Regions from separate parts of the Homo sapiens genome. Here regions 2, 3, 4, 5 and 6 are each linked to region 1. The links are contacts of gene promoters, found by promoter capture Hi-C in human tissues and cell types (Jung and others, 2019). All regions are on one chromosome and are shown on one strand. The core of a region is centred on a gene start or on the middle of the fragment in contact, and the rest is flanking DNA. Distances in the headings are between cores, read along the strand shown. Region 1 holds the start of PTPN9 (protein tyrosine phosphatase non-receptor type 9). Region 2 has its middle 38 kb from the start of MIR4313. Region 3 overlaps SIN3A (SIN3 transcription regulator family member A). Region 4 holds the start of LOC101929408 (a long non-coding RNA gene). Region 5 overlaps SIN3A (SIN3 transcription regulator family member A). Region 6 overlaps SIN3A (SIN3 transcription regulator family member A).

Evidence for each region. Contacts are between HindIII fragments. The study calls those that stand out against the background at their distance.
Region 2: a fragment that was not itself captured here is called in contact with the fragment with the promoter of PTPN9 in region 1 in 1 of the 25 tissues and cell types used here (IMR-90 fibroblasts).
Region 3: a fragment that was not itself captured here is called in contact with the fragment with the promoter of PTPN9 in region 1 in 1 of the 25 tissues and cell types used here (stomach).
Region 4: a fragment that was not itself captured here is called in contact with the fragment with the promoter of PTPN9 in region 1 in 2 of the 25 tissues and cell types used here (IMR-90 fibroblasts and aorta).
Region 5: a contact is called between a fragment that was not itself captured here and the fragment with the promoter of PTPN9 in region 1, in 3 of the 25 tissues and cell types used here (H1 embryonic stem cells, adrenal gland and hippocampus).
Region 6: a fragment that was not itself captured here is called in contact with the fragment with the promoter of PTPN9 in region 1 in 3 of the 25 tissues and cell types used here (adrenal gland, pancreas and stomach).

The regions. Positions count from the first base shown.
Region 1 is chr15:75,577,988-75,580,719 of GRCh38, forward strand. It overlaps PTPN9 (protein tyrosine phosphatase non-receptor type 9), which reads right to left and starts at 1,328. Exons shown (of 13, transcript NM_002833.4): 1 at 727-1,328. The coding sequence starts at 789. RefSeq lists silencers at 536-935, 1,196-1,685 and an enhancer at 895-1,493. The HindIII fragment of the contact is 16,601 bases long and covers 1-2,732 here.
Region 2 is chr15:75,799,021-75,801,752 of GRCh38, forward strand. No RefSeq gene overlaps it. Among named protein-coding and RNA genes, the nearest start is that of MIR4313, 38 kb to the left of the region's middle. The HindIII fragment of the contact is 8,210 bases long and covers 1-2,732 here.
Region 3 is chr15:75,385,026-75,387,757 of GRCh38, forward strand. The region is part of intron 16 of SIN3A (SIN3 transcription regulator family member A); the gene reads right to left. Among named protein-coding and RNA genes, the nearest start is that of MAN2C1, 18 kb to the left of the region's middle. The HindIII fragment of the contact is 5,935 bases long and covers 1-2,732 here.
Region 4 is chr15:75,758,168-75,760,899 of GRCh38, forward strand. LOC101929408 (a long non-coding RNA gene) reads left to right here and starts at 375. Exons shown (of 4, transcript XR_932487.3): 1 at 375-460. The HindIII fragment of the contact is 5,413 bases long and covers 1-2,732 here.
Region 5 is chr15:75,414,833-75,417,564 of GRCh38, forward strand. All of the region lies in intron 3 of SIN3A (SIN3 transcription regulator family member A), which reads right to left. Among named protein-coding and RNA genes, the nearest start is that of SIN3A, 35 kb to the right of the region's middle. The HindIII fragment of the contact is 5,110 bases long and covers 1-2,732 here.
Region 6 is chr15:75,432,387-75,435,118 of GRCh38, forward strand. All of the region lies in intron 1 of SIN3A (SIN3 transcription regulator family member A), which reads right to left. Among named protein-coding and RNA genes, the nearest start is that of SIN3A, 18 kb to the right of the region's middle. The HindIII fragment of the contact is 8,922 bases long and covers 1-2,732 here.

The sequences.
Region 1 (2,732 bases), core at 78-2,577:
CACTTCCTTCTGAAAACTAAAGGTCATAGGCTTTTAAGGAACAATAGAGCTCAATGTAAGCTTCAGAAAGATGGAGACAGTCAGATGAGACGAGGGTAGGGAAGCGCGGGTGAGGAGATGCGCCCCGTCTGGGATAGCTGAATAGGGGGGTCAAGGCCAGGGACTTTAGGAACACGAGAAGGGCTGGATCTTCCATAACCTGCCCAAGTGGGCCTGAGAAACCTAAGAGGCTCCTCTGAAAATCTAGGGCATCTATGCATCCAATACTCTCAGCCCTCTCCTCGGGAAGGGAGATAATCCCCACAGGAAGCACCCCCCAAACTGGGGCTTTTCCTGCCCTTCAAAAGCCACAAACCCTCACGGAAAACATTTACAAGGGAGTGGAAGGGCCGGGGGCAAGCAGCGGTTCTGCAAATCTCGGGAAGAAGGCCCCTGGATCCAAGGAACTTTGCCCCTGGAATAGGGGGTGGGGTGCGGAGGGCACCGTCTGAGGCTGGTAAGCCTCGGCGAAAGAAGCGGCGGGAACGGGAGTAGGGTCCCGTGGGTCCCCCGACGAGGGGGTGGCGGCCTGGGGCGCGGTCGCCGGTGAGGGAGGCCCGCGAGCCGGGCACGGGAGCGGGGGGCTGCGGCCCCGTGGCTGCAAAGAGCCGGCACTCGGGAGGCAGAGGCCGGCGTAGGCCTCGGGGGCCCGGACACACCCAACGCGGCGGCCTCGGGCCCGCTTACCTGCTCCTCCTCCGGGGTCAGCTCCGGCGCCATGTCGGGCCGGGGCGCGGTCGCGGGCTCCATCCCCCCGCCACCGCCGCCGGGCGGACAAAACTCGCTCGCGAGCGCGGGAGCCCGGCGCGCTCGGCCTCCGCTTCCGCGTCCCCGCGCCTCAGCAGCCCGGGGCCGGCTCGCGCATAGTGTGGCCGGCAGGGCCCGGCGCCTGCAGCGGCCGCAAACGCCGCTTCTGCTTCCTTAAGAAAAATCTCTCCGAACTGCCGCTCTCTTCCGGGAGGAAATCCTTTTTTATATTATTCGCTCCGTTCCTCACACTCCCCCTTATCTCCTGGGGAAGAAAAAGTGCAGGCGAAGAGCTAACAGCCACTCGGGATTTAAAAGGAAATAGGAAATCAGGAACTTTTAGAGCCGGGAGCGAAGGGTCGGCGGAAATTTCCCGAAGGCCGCCGACCCCCTCGGCGCCCCGCTTCCTCGGCCGCGCTCCCGCTCCTCCACAGCGCCACAGAGCTCGGGGCCGCCCAGCCGGGCCGTCCTCGCGGACGCTGGCCCTGCGACCTGCGCGGCTGCCTCAGCCAGGCTCCTCGCGGGCGGCCGCAGCGAAAGGGAGGGAGTGGAGAGGGAGCGAGGGAAACGCGCCCCCCTCCTGACTCACGGCCAACGCTGCGGCCGCCCCGCGGCCGCCCGAGCCCCCCGCGGCTCCATTGAGAAACTGAGCGTCTCATTCACAAGCTGGCGGCGAGGAGGGCCCGGCGGAGCGAGGACGCAGTCCGGGAGGGGGAGACAGAGAGGAGCCCGGGCGGGGGAGGGGACCGGGAGGGGGAGGGGACCCGGGCGGGGAGGGGACCCTAGCTGGACGGAAGGCAACTCGACTGCGGGAGGGAGAAAAAGGAAGAAAAGAGTATTTCGTGAGGCTCAGATCCTCGGAGGAGGAGGAGAATACGTTCGTTTGCAAATTATCTGCTGACTGGCACCTCTCCTGGGGTTAACTTGCCGCTGCCACCTACGCGTGAGAAACCCACAATCCTCAACTATTTGTCGCTTGCAGCCTGAAAGACCCTGGAAAGGTTGCCTGCCAGGCCAGGATGCTTAGGTGGAAGGAATCGCACCTGCCTCCCTCTCTCTCCCTCCTTACTGGCTGCACCCTGTAATTCATCTCCAGTGTCGCTAATTTTAATCCCCCATAGAAACGACATCAGACTCCGAACATCATTCAGGAATGACGCGGCCTTTGCAGACCTTTGATTTTCACTAGGGCAAGTGCAGCAAAGGGTTCAGGATTAGGGGTACAGTCTTGGAGTCATTTGGGGAGGAATGGGGCATAGAGAAGGCAAGGCTGGGTCTGGTACGTTGTTGCATTATTCCAAGCCAAAGATAAATATTCCAAAGGGACCCAAAGTCCACAACTAGTTCCAAGGCTGAAGCCCTGGAGCCAGTCCTGAGGGACCCAAAGGAGGGGCCTTCAGACAACAGGAAGGTGCTGTGAGTTGTGATGCTCCTATGATTTTTTTTTTATTTTTTTTTTTGAGACGGAGTCTCTGTGTCGCCCAGGCTGGAGTGCAGTGGCGCGATCTCGGCTCACTGCAACCTCCACCTCCCGGGGTCAAGCGATTCTCCTGCCTCAGCCTCCTGGGTAGCTGGGATTACAGGTGCGAGCCACCACGCCCGGCTAATTTTTGTATTTTTAGTAGAGACGGGGTTTCACCATGTTGGTCAGGCTGGTCTCGAACTCCTGACCTTGTGATCCGCCCGCCTCGGTCTTCCAAAGTGCTGGGATTACAGGCAGGCGTGAGCCACCGCGCGCCTGGCTTTTTTGTTTTTCTTTTTTTGAGACGGAGTCTCACTCTGTCACCCAGGCTGGAGTGCAGTGGCGCGATCTCGGCTCACTGCAAGCTCCCCCTCCCAGGTTCACGCCATTCTCCTGCCTCAGGCTCCCAAGTAGCTGGGACTACAGGCACCCGCCACCGCGCCCGGCTAATTTTTATTTTTATTTTTTTTATTTTTTTGTATTT
Region 2 (2,732 bases), core at 150-2,649, 220 kb after region 1:
GAGAGAGAGAGAGAAAATTTCAATAATCTTGCAGTTAGAAGGAAAAACCTGGGGCTGAGCACAAAGAGACATAAAGCACAGCATAAAGAGGCAGAGAAATGTCTAATGAAAAGTGACAAAGAATTAATTAGTTCTTATATAAAGAAATATAGGACTTTAGCAGCAGGATAAAACTGGAATATAATTTCTTCTAGAATCCTGATAATCTTTGTGAGAAAACTGTTGGTCATATATGTTAATTGCCAAAACTTGCAGGACCCTATGCAATAGAACTAGCAAATAAAACCATCTTTCTGAAACTCACTATGCTACAAGCAGCATTCAACTCTTTCTCAACCAAGATTTCACTAACCTATCTCCAGCTTCCAGATGGTGAGGGAAAGTGTGATGAGATTTTATGATAAATTGTGCCTGTCTCTGAGTCCATCTCCTTCTATTGAAGAGAAGGAAAATGAGGTGAGCACATTACAGCCCTGCTGACAAAAGTCACAAGATAAGCAAATAATTATTACTTAAAACCAGGGAGTCCTATAATTTATTCATGAATGCCACACATTCTATATTAGATCTTCCATTTCAATTTACTTGTATTATTTGAAGCTAATTTATAAGATTCAAATTATTCAGAAAATGCTCCCACGTAAATAGAAGAAAACACTTTAACCAGAGGAAGTATCATGCTACACAATATGGTGTGGTGGTGAAGGGTGCAGGCTCTAAAACCAGAAAACACAGGTTCAAGTCCTGGCCTTACCACCTTGGGAAAGTTACATGGTCTCTCTGTGCCTCCATTTCCCCATCTAAAATGTGGGGATGACAATAATAGTGTCTATTTCACAGAGCAGTTTTGAGGAAAATAATATATGTAAAGCACTGTGAACAGCAGTTAGTGCTATGTAAGTGTTTGCTCTAGTTATTTTAACATTTCAGATGATAAATATCTACCCTGTTATTCAGATGACAAGCGTCCCTAAGCTGATAACATGATGAAGAGCTTTTGGGTTTCTTAATTTCCATCAGTTTTGTGAGGGAAAAAATACCACATGAAGAAGAGCAACTGAAGCAGGCGTGAGGAGGAAACTTGGCTTAAGATTGGGGGGCTTGGGGTTATTAGGCTTTCATCTTCTAAAATGTCCTAAGCTCCATTGATAAGAAGACACTTAGTATCAATCCAGCTAAAAAGGAACAATAGACCCCACAAGACACTGAGTTAGAGACAAAAATAGCAGGGTAATAAATGAAATATGGAAAACTACACAACCAGAAAAATAAACAGCTACCAGTACCCAAAACGTGGTTAAATCTCACAGGATTATATTGAATGAAAGAAGCCAGCCACAAACGTGCACATACTGAATGGTCCCATTTATATGAAGCTAAAGAACAGGCGAAACTAATCCATGGTTGCAGAGGTCAGGATCCTGGTTAACTTTGAGGGGACAGCAACTGAGAAGGGGCAAGAGGGAGCCCTCTGTGCTGATGGGAACATTCTGTATCTTGAACTGAGTGGCGGTCACATAAGTGTGCACATATGTAAATAGTAAGGAGTTGTAGCTTAAGGTATAGGCACCTCGCTGAATGTAAGATACTGTCTTAGTCCATGTGTGCTGCTGTAACAAAATATTTGAGACTGGGTAATGTGTAAAGAACAAAAATGTATTTCTCACAGTTCTGGTGGGTGGGAAGTCCAAGATCAAAGCGCCAGCAGGTTTGTAGTCTAGTGAGGGCTGCTCTCTGCTTCCAAGATGGCACCTTAAATGCTGAGACCTCCAGAGGTGAGGAATGCTGTGTCCCAGCATGGTGGAAAGAACAGAAAAGCAAAAGAAGAAAACCGAGCTGGGTAGCTCCCTCAAGCCCTTTCATAAGGTCACTAATCCCATTCACGAGGGGGCTCCTCCTTACAGCTTAGTCATCTCCTAAAGACTCCACCTCTTAATACTATCACATTGGGGTTTAAGTTCCAACATGAATTTTGGAGGAGACACAATCATTCCAACCATAGCAAATATACTTTACTAAGAAAGAAAAAAACATAGTCTCTAAATATGATATTTTAAGAGTTTATATATTTAAAGCTCAATTTTCTGCTTGCTTACATACATATTTGTGACCATGAGTGTCATTCTTGGCTGAGAAACATTTCAGTAAATTTTAAAAAGTCTCACATTATCTATTAATATCTTATTCAGATAAGATCAAATTTCTAACCTACATTTTAGGTTGAGACAGAAACCCAGTCATTTGTTGCAATGTGAGAATGACAGAGAGATAGTAACTAGCAGAATCCAACTATAAAACTAAATTTAAGGGCACAATTCTCTACTAATCACTCCCCCAGACAAATCATTACTTGGATAGCAATGAATCAACTAAAAATGGAAGTGAGAAAAGTTCGAGTCCTTTTTGCGATGGATGGATGCTTATGAGACTATTAAGTGAAGGGGGTTCGGAAATAAGGGGATAAATGGCATACTAATTTGAGGTTGAATGGAGTAATGAGATGACCTTGGAAATATAAGAATCCTGCTTAATGGGGCTTGTCTACTTGCAATTCGATAAACTAATATACGTAAATTCAAGGAGATAAAGGACATGAGCACTCAGCACAAAATTACAGGAATAGATTTAGCAAAGAGGAACCAAAGTTGAGATAAGGGCCACTGTTCCAGGTCTGACATCTTTAATTCTTGAGTCATGGGGATGGTAAACCAGAGAACAGAGTCTTCCGACTG
Region 3 (2,732 bases), core at 73-2,572, 190 kb before region 1:
AGCCGGGCGTGGTGGCAGGAGCCTGTAATCCCAGCTACTTGGGAGGCTGGGGCAGGAGAATCGCTTGAACCTGGGAGATGGAGGTTGCAGTGAGCCGAGACTGCACCACTGCAAAGCTCACCGTGAGCTGGGGTGAGGAAGGGAGCCTTGGAGAATCATGAATGCAGTATCTATGTCTATATTCCCAGGCCAACTACAAAGCCTGAAACTCATTAAGTATTTAAGAAATAGCTGCTGAATTATTGCCCAGGGGTGCTCAGCTGAAGAAGGAGGGTTGGGACTAAAAGTCAAGGTTCCTGACTCCTAGCCCAATACTTTTCCAAACACATCACCTATTTTTCTGTATCTGATAGAAAGTATAGGGCTTAAGTTGTACATAAAGTTAACTCACTTTCCATACAGGCCAATCATGATTGACTATCAGTAGCTTTTGTGACAATCTTAGGAAACTAATGACTAGAAAGTTGAACGTTTCAGAGTTCCCATTCTCATGTCATGCTATTTCTATTTTGAAATAAAAATCCTTCCAAATGAAACTTTATCATCAAAATGACAGAAGTGAAAAATAGATACAAGAAGAAAGCAAAACGTTAATTTCAATATTGATTTGTCTGTTTAAAAAACTTTAAGATGATCATAACCACCAAGCCATTCTATTTTTAGGAAGACACATTCTTTTTAAGTGTTAGGAACCATGATAACTATTTATTCTTAAGTCCTAAATGACCAGTATGTGTATTAGTAGATAACTGGACACAGTGAAAGGTCAGAACGGTGACTGAGTGTGGCAGAAAGGGCAGTATCTCCAGCAACTACAGATGGATAAATAAATCACAATGAGTCCAGATAAAGGATTCTGATACAACCATTAAAATAATGCTTATGAGTACCTGATATCATGAGGAAGATTAAGATACAGTGTTTTAGGAGAAAAAAGAAAAGGTGGAAAAAAACAGATGGAAAGCATGACTTCAATCATACATACAGATGCTTCCACTTTCTACTTTCTTTTTGAGACAGAGTCTCGCTCTGTCGCCCAGGCTGGAGTGCAGTGGCATCGTGATCTTGGCTCAGTGCAGCCTCAACTTCCTGGGCTCAAGCAACCCTCCCATACCTCAGCCTCTTAAGTAGCTGGGTCTACAGGCATGTGCCACCACGCCCAGCTAACTTTTTTGTATTTTCAGAAGAGACGGGGTTTTGCCATGTTGCCCAGTCTGATCTCAAACTTCTGAGCTCAAGTGATCCACCCGCCTTGGCCTCCCAAACTGCTGGGATTACAGGCGTGAGCCACCGCCTCTACTTTATACTTTCTTGTTGAAGTAGACTGTATTACTGATTCCCCACCCATACTCTCTTTTTGGATATCTGGCCCCTCCTCGAGTCTTCAGAAAAGACAGCACTACAAATCCAGAGACAGCTACGGAACTCCCACCCCCACTGCTAAGCAGATCAGATTCTCTATCTTGCTAATTGGAGATGACAGAGAGGGTGTTCAATAGATTTTTTGAGGAGGAGCATCTGTATGGAAAGGTCTAGTAACACTGGGACCAGGGGTACTGGGAGGGCAAGCCAAAGCCTCAGAGGCTGGAGGAGCCTGGAGCACATGCCGTATGTTCATCTGCAGAGCAAAGCACAAGCATGGAGCAGAAGTCCAGAGTGAAGGCATGCAGGAGAGAAAAATCACCTCCCAGCCCAATCCTTCCATGGTGTGGTCCTATTTTGAGTTCTGTACTTGGATGTCTGTGAGGTTGCCTATTGTATTCTTAATACAAATCCCTCTTAAGCCAGCCTACAATAGGTAAGATAAATGTAATGGCTTCACTTGGCTGGAATGCAGTGGTGCAATCACGGCTCACTGCAGCCTCAACTTCCTGGGTTCAGATGATCCTCCCACCTTAGCCTCCTGAGTAGCTGGGACTACAGGCATGTGCCACCATGCCCAGCTAATTTTTTGTATTTTTAATACAAATAGTGTTTCCCCATGTTGCCCAGGCTGGTCTCCAACTCCTGGACTCAATATATCTGCCCGCCTTGGACTCCCAAAGTGCTGGTATTAGAGGCATGAGCCACCATGACCAGCCTTGACTTTGAAATATATGTTGTACATTCAGTCAGCAGTGGAATCTGAGGGAACACCAAATATGAGGAGAATGAGAGAAGAGATACCTCCAGTTAAAGGAGTTGAGAAGCTTGAAAATGTTTTAAAAAGTCACTGTAGGCTGGGCACAGTGGCTCATGCCCGTAATCGCAGCGCTTTGGGAGGCTGAAGTAGGTGAATTGCTTGAGCCCATAAGTTTGAGGCCAGCCTGGACAACATGGCAAAACTCCATCTCTACAAAAAATACAATAAATTAGCCGGTGTGGTGGCCCCTTTGGTCCCAGCTACTTGGGAGGCTGAGGTAGGAGGTCAAGGCTACAGTGAGCTGATCACACCACTGCACTCCAGCCTGGGCAATAGAGTGAGACCCTGGGTTGGAAAAAAAAAAAAAAAAAAAGTCACTGTTTTGGGGTTTTCTGGATGAAACCTGTTTCCATTAAAAAAAAAAAAAAAAAGCGGGGGGTGGGTGGAGATAGTATTTATTACTGATTCAAAATCATAACCAGATACAGTAAATAATTGTAACTATTGTTTCGAAAACCAACCTCAGAATTATTAAAAGTTAGTTTTATTGGATTTTTTTTTTAAGCTGTGCTGGTGGTATGAAAGACTTCGTTCCTAGCTGAAGCAGCAG
Region 4 (2,732 bases), core at 159-2,658, 180 kb after region 1:
TAATAGGTACAATTTTCTGCATGTGTAGTAGATTTCAATAGTTTTTAAAATGTCTTTTGCCGCAGCCCGCAGCTGTGTATAATGCTATTCGCTTAACAGTGGAAAACATGGCAATGACCTGAATCCCCCTGGCTCCCGGGATCCTACCCCCTTAAGTTAAACAAATGAAATAACTTCCACTGTCTTTCCTAATGTCTTAATTCGGTCCTCAGTTAAACTGGCGGTGGGCGCTGCTTTTTTTCCAGGGAAGGATTCTGGAAGACATAGGAGGAGACGCCAGCATTTCGCCCTCCAGCACCTCCTGCGGGCTGTGGTCCGCTTCCGGCCTCACTCGAGCAGACCCCGCCCTCCCAGAGGCCGTTTGTCCAAGTCACGTGATCGTCGAATCTGTTGACCTGGCGCCACCGGAAAAAGAAATTCCCGGGCCCTGGCTTCTTGGCCTGATGGTGAGGCACCAGAGGTGAAGCGAGGCATGGGCTGCTGGAGCGGGAATGAGGGGGCGACAGTGGCTCCGGAAACGGGGGGAGGGTGTCTTCACTGGCCTCTCCGCAAACACAGTGTGTGCGGGTGTGAGGGCTGCAGGTCTGGTAGAGAAGAGTCCACCGCCATCCCGCTCCTGAGACGGGGGCAGGAGTGGGGGGCAGGAGTGGGGGGGCGGGTAAGACAGAGCAGGCCGGCCGGCTTGTGGAGGGCGAGGCAGGCAGATCCCTTGAGCTCAGGAGTTTGAGACCAGACTGGGCAACATGGCAAAACCCCATCTCTACTAAAAATACAAAAAATTAGCTGGGCATGGTGGCACATGCCTGTAGTCCCAGGTAGTTAGGAGGCTAGGGTGGGAGCACTGCTTGAGCCCAGGAAGTAGAGGCTGCAGTGAGCCGAGATCATGATGTCACTGCACTCCAGCCTGGGCAACAGAGTGGGACCCTGTCTCAAAAAATAAAAATAAAGTGGAAGCATCAGTATGCATGATTGAAGTCATGCTTTCCATCTATTTTTTTCCACCTTCCCTTTTTTCTGTCTAAAACATTGTATCTTAAGCTTTTGCCTATGTTATCAAGTACTCATAAGCATTATTTGAATGGTTGTATCATAATCCATTATCTGGACTCATTGTCATTTATCCATCTGCAGTTGCTGGAGATACTGCCCTTTCTGCCACACTCAGTCACCCTTCTGACCTTGCACTGTGTCCAGTTATCTACTAATACCCATACTGGTCATTTAGGACTTAAGAATAGTTATCATAGTTTTTAACATTCCAAAAAGAATGTGTCTTCCTAAAAATAGAATGGCTTGGTGGTTATACTTTTAAAGCAAAATAGACAAAGCCATGTTGAAATTAATGTTTTATTTTCTTCTTGTATCTATTTTCACTTCTCTTGTCATTTTGATGGATAAAGTTTCATTTGGAAGGATTTTTATTTCAAAACAGAAATAGCATATGACATGAGAAGGGGAACTCTGAAAGGTTCAACTTCCTAGTTTACTAAGTTTGTCACAAAAGCTACTGATAGTCAATCATGATTGGCCTGTATTGAAAGTGAGTTAACATTATGTACAACTTAAGCACTATACTTTCTATCCGATACAGAAAAATAGGTGGTGTGTTTGGAAAAGTATTGGGCTAGGAGTCAGGAAGCTTGATTGTTAGTCTCAACCCTGCTTCTTGAGCTGAGCACCCCTAGGCAATAATTCAGCAGCTATTTCTTAAATACCTAAATGAATTTCAGGCTTTGTGGTTGGGCTGGGAATATAGACATAGATACTGCATTCATGATTCTCCAAGCCTCCCTTCTTCACCCCGGCTCACAGTGAGCTTTCTTATGCATTGTGTAAATTTGTCTCCTAACAGGCCCCAACTCTGTCTCCAACCTCCTTCCCAGGGCAGTTGTGAGGATCAGATGAGGGAGAATATGTGTGAAAGCAAATTGTAAATTATTTTAAAATGCAATAAAAATATGATCCATGGAAAATTATTTAAAGATCCTTATTAAAATTATTAAAGATCCTTAGAATTTTAAATAAACAGTACATTAGGCCGGGCATTGTGGCTTAGGAGAGCGCTGGGTCAAATCAGTCCCCTCCAGCTACGCATTGCCTGGAGCTGCTCTCCAAGGACCCCTCAGCCACAGAAGGCGCTGGTCCTCCTACAGTGCTGCCCCACCCCCACCACCACAGCCTCCTGGGGGTGCAGTCAGGGGTGCCCTCCTTCAGGCTCTGCCCCTGCACCCACTCCTACACAACTACTCTCCCTGCCGGCAGCCCCAGAGACCAGATTGGTTTGGGCCTCTGCCTCCGCAGGCCCGAACCACCATCTCTTCTGCTCCCCAGAAAGCCAGCTCCCAGCACACAGGCAGCGTTCCCTCTTCATTCCTCAACACAGAGGGCCCCTCACAACCCTCTCAGCAGATGGTAGAGCTCCCCACGCATCCTCTTAAAGAGGCTTCACCGTTGATGGCCACAAGCCCCACCATGACCTCCTCCCAGGGAGTGAATTTTCTTACATGTCTCCCACCAGAGCAGGGACAAAATAAAACATAAAAGCAGCAGCTGTTAAATTATCAGCAACATTTCCTACTAGGATCAACTCACGGAGTGGGCAGTGTATTCCATTAGGTGGATCAGTGCAGGGGTTAGCAAGCGTTTTCTGTAAAGGGCCGGATGGGAACTCTTTAAGGCTCTGCAGGCCACTGGGTCTCTGTCACCACCTACTCAAACCCTCCCCTGTAGCA
Region 5 (2,732 bases), core at 104-2,603, 160 kb before region 1:
AAGCTAGCAAAAGTGAAGACCAGTGAAGAAAATCAAAAGCGGCAGCACGGGTAAAATCCTAGACAGGATACGATATGGGATATTTAGAAATCTGAAAACAGTTTAGTTTGGCTGGAGGATCTGTAGTGAAGAGGAAGGAAAAGTAACAAAATGAGACAGAAAAAAAAGCAGGATCTAGATTCTGAAAGGATTTGTAAATCTTGTGAAAAAGCAATTTAGATTTTTATCATCTGCATTTTCGTGTACGCAATTTGACTGCAGTGTTGAGAAAAAATTGGCACAAGAGCAGAAAAGATTGAAAGGAGGTAGGAAGACCAGGTATGCTACAGGAATAACTGGACAACTCATGTGAAAACAGTGGCTTGAATTATAGTACTGGCCCAGAACAACAGAGAGAACTGCATAGATAAAAAAGCTTTTTGGGTAGTAGAAGTGACAGGATTGGGGAACTGACTGAATAGAGGAGCTAAGGGAGAGCCAGCATTCAAAAGTGATCCGCCACGGAGCACTGAGGAAGAACAGTCAAGAGTGACTCTCGGACCGATCAAAGCCCACATGCCACTGCATCCCGCACTCAGCGCTTACATCCTTCCACATCACCACCACACCCAAGAGAAAGCCTGAAGGGGATGCTAAAGGAGATAGAGCCAAGGTGAAGAACAACCCAGAGAAGATCCGCAAGGTTGTATGCTAAACCTGCTCCTCCAAAGCCAGAGCCCAACCCTAAAAAGGATGCAGGCTGGGCGCAGTGGCTGACACCTGCAATCCCAGCACTTTCAGAGGCAGAGGTGGGAGGATCATCTGAGGTCAGGAGTTCGAGACCAGCCTGACCAACACGGAGAAACCCATCTCTACTAAAAATACAAAAATTAGCCAGGCATGGTGGCGCATGTCTGTAATGCCAGCTACTCGGGAGGCTGAGGCAGGGGAATCACTTGAACCCAGGAGGCGGAGGTTGCGGTGAGTCGAGATCATGCCATTGCACACCAGCCTGGGCAACAAGAGTGAAACTCGGTCTCAGGAAAAAAAAAAAAAAAAAAAAAGTCCCCTGCAAAGGAGAGAGAGGAGGTACCCAAAGGGAAAAAGGAAAATGCTGACACTGGCAGGGAGGGGAATAACCTTGCAGGAAATGGAGATGCCAAAACAGACCAGGCACAGAAAGCTGAAGGTGCTAGAGATGCCAAGTGAAACATGTGCATTTTTGGTAACTGTGTACTTCTGGTGACTGTAAAGTTTGAACTATAAAGTTATGAAGTTTGTAAATTTTGAAATACCATTGTTTAAATCAAGCTTTATAAAAATGCAGAATTTTGTTTTGCTTTTTCTAAAGCAGTGTTGTTATCGCACACAGAACACTTCATTGTTGTTTTGGTGGGAAGGATCACAGGTCACTAATAGAATGTCTTTGAAGCTGGACTGACGTGGGGAAAACACCTTTCCCTTCTAGTTTTGAGAGACTTCCTCTTGGCTTATAGAAGAAATTCCCTGACTTTATTTACTTATTTATTTAGAGACAGAGTTTTGCTATTGTTGCCCAGGCTGGAGTGCAGTGGTGCGATCTTGGCTCACTGTAACCTCTGCCTCCGGGGTTCAAGCGATTCTCTTGCCTCAGCCTCCTGAGTAGCTGGGGTTACAGGCACCCGCCAGCATGCCTGGCTAATTTTTGTATTTTTAGTACAGACAGGATTTCACCACATTGGCCAGGCTGGTCTCAAACTCCTGACCACAAGTGATCTGCCAGCCTCAGCCTCCCAAAGTCCTGGGATTACAGGCGTGAGCCACCACACCCAGCCTAGATTCCCTGACTTTTAACACACATGGCCACCTTGGCACAAACACCTTGTGGGATGGAAAAACAAATTCATTTTTACATCCTGTTCTCCCTCCCCACCTTCACAGACCTAACTCCCTTTTACCCAGACACCTGTTGGGACCTAACCCCCAATAACTGGTTACCAATATGTCAGGCAGTCAAACTTTCCAGTGATGCCACTGAAATGGCAGCCCTCAAAAGAGCAGTGGTTGCTTTTTCTAGACTGTGGATCTTCAGATAAGTCCTGCCATTTTCATTTCACTTCCTGAAAGTCAGGGTTGGCTTGTGAAAAGTTGTTAAACAACATGCTAAATGTGAAGTGTCAACCTTCACTCTAAACTTTCCCTGTTCAGAGCATCAAATGAGACTTCACTGGGTTTTATAGTGGCTTTTTTTTTTTTGGTAGCTCATTGTTAAGGATTGTCCATGTTCTGCCTGAAATACCATGACTGTTTTTGGAAAGTATCTTTAAAGCTGGATACAGTTTGGCTGGGGGAGAAAAAAAACTGACCTATCACAAAGAAGAACAGGTTGGAAAGGCTAAGCTATGAGTCTGATTTAGGACAGAGACACCCAAAAGAAATCCCCACTAGGTGTTTCCTATTTACTCTGAGATACGTTAAGTTTTATTTTGGTAGTTTAACTGAAGCCTAAATATTTAAAATTATACAAAATATCAGGTTTAAGAAATTTCAGAAATAAACATTTGATGTGATTTAAGCCAGTCTTTTTCTTTTTTTTTTTTTTGAGATGGGAGTCTCATTTTGTCTCCCAGGCTAGAGTGCAATGGCGCAATCTCGGGTCACTGCAACTTCTGCCTCCTGGGTTCAAGTGATATCTCCTGCCTCAGCCTCCTGAGTAGCTGGGATTCCAGGCGCATGTCACCACATCCAACTAATTTTTTTGTATTTTTAGTAGA
Region 6 (2,732 bases), core at 172-2,671, 150 kb before region 1:
TGAAGTCAATACTTTATTGGCCGGATGCAGTGGCTCACACCTGTAATCCCAGCACTTTGGGAGGCTGAGGCAGGCAGATCACCTAAGGTCGGGAGTTTGGGACCAGCCTGGCCAACATGGTGAAACCCTGTCTCCAGTAAAAATACAAAAATTAGCCAGGTGTGATGGCGCACACCTGTAAAACCTGCTACTTGGGAGGCTGAGGCATGAGAATCGCTAGAATCCAGGAGGCAGAGGTTGCATGAGGGGAGGTCCCACCACTGCACTCCAGCCTGGGCAACAGACTGAGACTCTGTCTCAAAAAAAAAAAAAAAAAAAAATTATAGAAATGTTATGATAGGGCAGCACTGGGTTTAAAAAACAAAAACTTCATAGGCTGGTCACAGTGGCTCACACCCGTAATCCCAGCACTTTGGAAGGCCGAGGTGGGTGGATCACCTGAAGTCAGGAGTTCGAGACCAGCCAGGCCAACATGGTGAAACCCAGTCTCTACTAAAAATACAAAATTAGCTGGGCATGATGGCACGCATCTGTAATCCCAGCTACTTGGGACGCTGAGACGGGAGAATCGCTTGAACCTGGGAGGCGGAGGTTGCAGTGAGCAAATTCGCACCACTGCACCCCAGGCTGGGGGACAGCGCGACTGTCTCAAAAAATAACAACAACAAAAAAAAACTTTATAAATAATAAGCCAAAATCAGATGTGAAGAGCACGGCACGACTATAGAAAAAACACTAGAGTACCTTTTAAGAACTGGATTCTGTTGGATGGGAGAATGTTTGAGGGCAAAAAATAAAAACAAACAAAAAAGAACTGGATTCTACTCCAAACTCTATCTACCATGAAGCTTTCTAATTTTGGCCCTGTTTTCAAACAGGGGCAAAAGGAGGGGATCAGCCTACATTAGTGATTTCCAAATGCTGGTTTATGAACCAGTCTATAAGGAAAAAGAAGATTGTAGTGAGCTTTTCATACATTAAGTATTACAGTACTATGGTTTATTCTGATATCATACTCTATCTTTTGGCTGTTAAAATATCGTTTCTTTTATTAAGTGATTGGGATTTCATATGGTACTTAACTTCATCCACCTCCAGAGTTTGCTTTCCATACCACCTCTACAACACTACAGAGGCTGAACTTTCTCTGAACCATACTTTATTCCTTTAACAATTACCACTCATAGGCCGGGCGTGGTGGCTCACGAGATCAGGAGATCGAGACCATCCTGGCTAACATGGTGAAACCCCGTCTCTACTAAAAATACAAAAAATTAGCCAGGCGTAGTGGCGGGCACCTGTAGTCCTAGCTACTCGGGAGGCTGAGGCAGGAGAATGGCGTGGACCGGGAGGCAGAGCTTGCAGTGAGCCGAGATCATGCCACTGCACTCCAGCCTGGGCGACAGAGCAAGACTCCATCTCAAAAACAACAACAACAAACAAACAAACAAACAATTACCACTCAAAGTTCTATTCCTAACTCTCTCTCAAATAAATTGCTTCCGCTCTAATCATACCTCCTGGTTTCAGGCCCTGATCATCCTTCACAACAACCTTATAAGCAAGGTGTTCTCTAATTTATGAATGAGGAAACTGAAAAACAAAGATTAAGTAAACTGCCCAAGGTTGCACAGCTAGTAAGAGGCAAAGCTGTGATATAAATCCAGGAAATCTGTCTCCAGAGCCTGGCTCTTAACTACTTCACTACCTTACCTCTCACAGAAGAGAAGAAGTGAAGGAAGAATCCCTTTACTTATTTAAGGCACACATGCAGGGAGCAAGTTCAGCTTTTTTTAACCTTTCACACACTTAGCTAACTCATCCTTCTTCAGCCTAAACCTAATAAAGCAGAAATGCTTTAGTAGCATTCATTCATTAAAAGCAAATGTTCAGTGAGTAGATATGAAGTTGGTAGATGATTTCAGCCCTTGCCCTCTAAAACCATATATAGCCTCACTAGTAATAAAAAACGTGTAAAGTAGGCCGGGCGCGGTGGCTCATGCCTGTAATCCCAGCGCTTTGGGAGGCCGAGGCAGGCGGATCACTTGAGGTCAGGAGTTCAAGACCAGACCGGCCAACATGGTGAAACCCTCCCTCTACTAAAAATACAAAAATTAGCCGGGTGTGGTTGTGGGCGCCTGTAATCCCAGCTACTCAGGAGGCTGAGGCACGAGAATCACTTGAACCTGGGAGGTGGAGGTTGCAGTGAGCCGAAATCGCGCCACTGCACTCCAGCCTGGGCAATAGAGTGGAACTGTCTCAAAAAAAAAAAAAATAAAAGGTCAGGCGCCGTGGCTCACACTTGCAATCCTAACACTTTGGTTCGCCGAGGCGAGTGGATCACCTGACGTCGGGAGTTTGAGACCAGCCTGATCAACATGGAGAAACTCTGTCTCTACTAAAAACACAAAATTAGCCGGGCATGGTGGTGCATGCCTGTAATCCCAGCTACTCGAGAGGCTGAGGCAGGAAAATCGCTTGAACCTGGGAGGCAGAGGCTGCAGTGAGCCGAGATCGCGCCACTGCACTCCAGCCTGGGCAACAAGAGCAAAACTCCGCCTCAAGAAAAAAAAAAGTAATTTACTCCAAAGCAATTTAAAAAAAAAAAAGATGACAGTGTGGGTAAGGATACAGGGAAACACTGATGGAGGAGGCTTTAATTGGTACAGCCTATTTAGCTGGCAACTTGTAGGTATTTATTAAAATTTTAAATGTGCATACCCATCCCATGC